Regions from separate parts of the Homo sapiens genome. Here region 2 is linked to region 1. The links are contacts of gene promoters, found by promoter capture Hi-C in blood cells and fetal thymus (Javierre and others, 2016). All regions are on one chromosome and are shown on one strand. Each heading gives the region's core, a stretch centred on a gene start or on the middle of the fragment in contact. The rest is flanking DNA. Distances are from core to core; before and after follow the strand shown. Region 1 holds the start of ZNF433 (zinc finger protein 433). Region 2 overlaps LOC105372269 (a long non-coding RNA gene).

The links. Contacts are between HindIII fragments. The CHiCAGO score rates a contact against its expected background, and 5 or more counts as called.
Region 2: a fragment that was not itself captured here is called in contact with the fragment with the promoter of ZNF433 in region 1 in 1 of 17 cell types (total CD4 T cells); the score reaches 5.3 in total CD4 T cells.

Annotation. Positions count from the first base shown.
Region 1 is chr19:12,034,341-12,037,040 of GRCh38, forward strand. It overlaps ZNF433 (zinc finger protein 433), which reads right to left and starts at 1,339. Exons shown (of 4, transcript NM_001308348.2): 1 at 1,197-1,339. The coding sequence starts at 1,199. ZNF433-AS1 (ZNF433 and ZNF878 antisense RNA 1) reads left to right here. Exons shown (of 3, transcript NR_134929.1): 2 at 1,214-1,432. RefSeq lists silencers at 874-993, 1,004-1,053, 1,294-1,453. The HindIII fragment of the contact is 7,472 bases long and covers 385-2,700 here.
Region 2 is chr19:9,461,296-9,464,243 of GRCh38, forward strand. It overlaps LOC105372269 (a long non-coding RNA gene), which reads left to right. Exons shown (of 3, transcript XR_007067133.1): 3 at 731-1,234. It also overlaps a transcript of ZNF560 not described here. Among named protein-coding and RNA genes, the nearest start is that of ZNF266, 27 kb to the left of the region's middle. The HindIII fragment of the contact is 2,631 bases long and covers 83-2,713 here.

The sequences.
Region 1 (2,700 bases), core at 89-2,588:
ACTCTGGAATTGAGTCACCTGACACTGGAAAGAGCCAGCTGGAACCCTCCCACACTTGACTACAGATTAACCATCAGACAGGCTTCACTATACCTGGACAGGCCTCATTATACCCGCTTCCTTTAGGAGTTTCCACATAGCCACTGACCCACCTTCATGTTAAAACAGACATCAGCCAACTGGAAACACAGACTCTCTGTGACAATAAGAAACCAAATTACAAACAAGACCTAAGGCCATGCAAGGCAAGAGGTAAGTCAAATCTTAGAATTCACAAAATCTAAAGAAACAGGTCTTTTGTTTTGGGTGGGATGAAATCATATGACAGATACCAGACCCTCTTCACTTAAGCAATCCTTCCTACCGCCTCGAAGTTTTAGACAAAGCTTCACACTCTCCACCAACGGCCACCTTCAGAATCCCTCAACCACCTGCACCTTCTAACCCCCCTTCCACAGGTCCCGCCCTTTCTGCCAAAGGAACTTACACCTTTCCAGGCATTGATGCATGATTCTCCCTGCAATTCCTGTCTCCCTGAAATGAATAAAAACAGTCTTGAGCCGCCTCGGGACCACTTACTTCAGGCCTCCTGGGGTTGTGTTTTCCTCAGCTGAGGCCTCTCCTATTCGGCTCTGAATAAACTTCTTTAAGTTATTTTACACAGCTTGGCATTTTCCGTTAACAAATTACAAGCCAGGACTGGGTGTTTATCATTCAGGAATCTCAAAGGAACTCTAATTATTAATATATTTTTTAAAACCTATTCTGAGAAGCAAAACTATAATTGTTAACGTGTCTCAGTTTAATTTTTAAGAGGAGAAAGGCGCTACTGGGGACCCCACAGCCCACCCTCCTCCTACACAAACCCCCACACCCGAGGCGGGATCCCCCCATGACCCTCGCGTAGTCCCCGCACAATGTGGGGAGACGCGGGGCAGCGGGCGCGGAGCTGCCCAGAGAGGGCTCTGGGAACTGGGTGACAGTCACCGCGCAGGGACAGGACGAGACGCCCGGGTCCCGGCGGCCGGCCCAGCCCCACTGTGGGGCCAAGGGGACCAAGGGCCGAGCTGTCCCACGGGAAATCGGGTCCCAGACCCCGGAGTCGCCGCGGGGAGGCCCGGGTCCCACCACAGCCGGTTCCGGCCGGTTCCAACCAGCTCCTCCCCCGCCTCGGGACCCCTGGCCCGCACGCTCACCATTTCTTGCCTTTCAGGTGACTCCCACGACCAGTGCGGGTCACAGCACAGGCGACAGAAGCTATGGCAGAGGCACCTGAACCCTCTCGGAGGGGAAAGCCAGGCTCCCAACCTCAGCTCGCCGCCTGGAGCCGGGAACCGAGGAGAGCAGGGCCTTCGCCCTCCCCGATGGACACTCGGCAGGCCCCGCCCAGCGCCCCTGATTGGACGAAGCGCCGGGCCCCGCCCCCTCAGCCGTGAGTGACAATAGAAGCCCTTGGTAACGGGGCTCTGAAAACGGGTTTGACCGGATCCAGCGATAGATTCTTTAAGCCAGAGGTCTGTAACCTTTTTAGCACCAGAACCGGTTTCGTGGAAGACAGTTCTCCTACGGGGGCAGATAGTTTCGGAATGAAACTTCCACCTCAGATCAGGCATTTTATCCTCATAAGGCGAACCCAACCTAGATCCCTCGCATGTGCAGCTCACAATAGGGTTCGGGCTCCTATGACAGACTAATGCCTCTGCTGATCTGACAGGAAGCATATCTCTGGCGATAATGCCCGCTGGCTCGCCCGCCAGCCGCTCACCTCCTGCTGTGCGGACTGGTTCCTTACAGGCCATGGACCGGGGGTTGGGGACCCCTGCCATAGAGTACTGTTGAATAGAAACTTTAGCTCGTCCGGCGGTGGGCTGGGGGGGTGGGGGTAGCTCATGCCTGTAACCCCACCACTTTGGGAAGCCAAGGCAGGCAGATTGCTTGAGCCTAGGAACTTAAGCCCAGCCTGGGTAACATAGCAAAACCCCGCCTCTACAAAAAATACAAAAATTAGTCGGGCGTGGTGGTACATGTTTGCAGTCCCAGCTACTCGGAAGGCTGAAATGAGAGGATCGCCTGAGCCCAGAGAGGTCGAGGCCACAGTGAGCTGTGATTTTACCAGCCTGGATGTCAGAGTGAGACCCTGTCTCCGAAAAAAAAAAAAAAAAAAAAGACAGGGAATTGCAGTGGAGTTTAATATACATAGAGCCGGCTAAATGAAAGAGAAGAGTTTTATTTTTATTCAATTCTGTCTCCCTAAAAAATGGGAGGCTAGGTTTTGTTTTTTTGGTTTTTTTTTGAGACGGAATCTCTCTGTCGCCCATGCTGGAGTGCAGTGGCGCAATCTCGGCTCAGTGCAACCTCCGCCTCCCGGGTTCAAGCGATTCTCCTGCCTCAACCTCCTGAGTAGCTGGGATTACAGGCATGCGCCACCATGCCCGGCTAATTTTTGTATTTTTAGTAGAGACGGGGTTTACCATGTTGGTCAGGCTGGTCTCAAACTCCTGACCTCATGATCCACCCGCCTCGGCCTCCCAAAGTGCTGGGATTACAGGCCTGAGCCCCCGCACCCGGCCGAGGCTAGGGTTTTAAAGATAATTTGGTGAGCAGAAGGCTGGAAAATGGGGAATGCTGATTGGTCGCGAAAAGGATATCACAGGAAGTCTCAGCTGTCTTCTTGCACTGAGTCAGTTCTTGGCTAGGGGC
Region 2 (2,948 bases), core at 148-2,647, 2.6 Mb before region 1:
CTCTTGTGTGAACTCTTCCTTGTTTAATACTAATCATTCTATACTAGCAGTGAGAGCTCAAGAAGGAGTTGGTTACCGGCGAAGCTTTCCCATCCTTGGGAACCCTCTCCCTCTGTACATATTATTACTAAATTCTTCAGAAAATTCTAAGAAGTTCTCAGTGTTTCATTGCTACTTTAATCTTGATTATTATGGGACTGATTGCTGTCACAGCTACTGCTGCAGTAGCTGGAGTGGCACTACATTCATCAGTGCAGACAGCAGATTTTGTAAATAATGGCAAAAGAATTCTACTCTGCTGTGGAACTCTCAAACTAAAATAGACCAAAAGATAGTTAATCAAATCAATGATCTCCAACCAACTGTAATGTGGGTGGGAGATCAAGTAGCTAGTTTGGAATATGGAATGCAGCTGAAATGCGACTGGAATACTTCTGACTTTTGTATCACTCCTCACCCTTATAATGAATTAGACCATGAATGGGAAAGAATAAAAAAAAGTATCTGGAAGGACACTCTACAAACTTGTCTTCGGATGTTGCAAAATTAAGAGAACAAATATTTCAAGCATCCCAGGCACACCTGACCTTAATGCCAGGAACTGGAGTGCTTGAAGGAGTTGCAGATGGATTGGCAGCCATAAATCCTATGAAATGCATAAAAACACTTGGAGGCTCTGTGATTTCTATGATGGTTGTGCTATTAATCTGTGTTGTTTGTCTTTGTGTAGTCTGCAGATGCGGATCCTGACTCCTGCAAGAAGTAGCTCACTGTGATAAAGCCGCCTTTGCTTTTATTGCCCTGGTAAAACAAAAAGGGGGACATGCTGGGAATAGGCCCCAAGCCTGGCCATAAACAAGCCATAAGAAAAGTCATAAACAAGATCTCTGCAGCACTGTGACATGCTCGTGATGGTTATGATGCACACACTGGAGGTTGCTGGTTCACCAGAATGAGGGCAAGGAACACCTGGCCCACCCAGGGCGGAAAACTGCTCAAGGTGTTCCTAAACCACAAACAATGGCATAAGCAATCTGTGCCTTAATGACATGCTCCTGCTGCAGATAACAAGCCAGAGCCTGTCCCTTTGTTCTCCTTAAAGAATACTTTCAGTTAATCTACAAACTACAGAAACGATGTTTATCACAGGCTGTCAATAAATAGGTGGGTCAAACTCTGTTCGAGGCTCTCAGCTCTGAAGGCTGTTAGCCCCCTGATCCCACTTTGCACTCTATTTCTGTCTATGTCTTTATTCCTCTAGTGCTGCTGGATTGTGGTCTCCATGACCGACCTGGTCTTGGCAAATATTACATGCCAATGTTAATAATATTTTTAAAAAATCTTTACACTATAGGTATATAAAATATTCTAGCAAAAAAAAAAGTTAATCCATTATACTCAAACTGCATTTTTCTGGAATTACAAAGATAATATAACATTGGAATGTCAATCAGTTATCTTTCCACATTTTAAAAAAACTTTTATTTACTTACACATTTAAATATTAGGTATCTATCAAGGGCAAGTACAGTCAGTCCTAGGTACCTGAATTTTCTGAGTAAGGCAAGATCATCAAAGAGGAATCAGGGAAAAGCATTCAATAAATTCTTAAGCCATTCATGGGAAAGATTCCCTAAGCAATGAAAAGTAGAAAAAAACCTTGACCTTTTAAAAATCTACAGCAACCAATACAGTGATTAGTAATGATGGAAAACATCTGCCATTAGGATTAGAAATAAAAGTATGCTTGTTTTACTACTTCTAGTTATTATTCTAGTATTTTCTGCCTAGACAAGACATAAATGACTGAAGGTTACAAGTTAAGTCAGTTACAGATAATATGAAATGTGGAAAACCCAAAATACATAAAACTAGGATGTTAAAGAATGTTGAACAAGGCTTCTAGTAAAATTCAGTATACAAAGATCAAGTGATTTTATATAAACAATCAGAAATCAGCTTCTAAAAAAAATAAAAAAGGAAATCAGCTTCTGAAGCTAGGCAATTTCTAGGCTGTGAGACTAGGGTATCATTTCTTAGTGATACATCACTATTAGTCCAAGCACCAGGATGAGGCCAACCTACAGTATTGACCTCACCTGTGACCCACAAGTGCTCATACTCCAACAACTGTGAAAAAGTTTCAGGAATAACCTATAGGTTTTATTTGAGACAATCAGGATGGCATCTAAGGACAGTCTGTGAGGTGACAGAAGTCACACAAGGCAATTAAGACTAATCTGCGTCTTTTGTGTCACTGGTAACAGTTAAACGCAACAAAGATGGGTTAAAATAATCACACTCATACCACAAGAGAACCACTCTGAAACCCTTTCCTCTCCATAAGAAAACATGTAACATGAAAATGCATGGACCTCAATTCAGTTTTTTTGGTTTTGTTTTGTTTTTGAGACAAGGCCTCTGTCACCCAGGTTGGAGTCCAATGGCACGATCTGAGCTCACTGCAGCCATGACCTCCCTGGGGTCAGTGAGACACCTATCTCAGCCTCCTGAGTAGGTTGGACTACAGGCACGTGCCATCACACCAGGCTAATCTTTACATTTTTTGTAGAGATAGGGTTTTGCCATGTTGCCCGGGCTGGTCTTGAACTCCTGAGCCCAAGTGATCCGCCTGACTTGGCCTCCCGAAGTGCTGGGATTACAGGCATAAGCTATTACACCCAGCTGATTCAGGATTGGTAAACTTACCTGAAGCTTTGGATTACCATTACACTGGCTGGATTAAGAACCACAGAAAGAATCACCAAGAAACAACAGCCTTAATTGCTGTACATGATATAACAGAAATATTTAAATTTGTACCACTCAGACTGGAACCTGGTTATGCAGCTTGTGCGTGTGTGTGTATTCCAGGGCCATGTTCAGGAAGTGCTAGTGATGGTGTCAAGCACAGCAGAATATCATGATCATCCATGTTCACAGGAGTT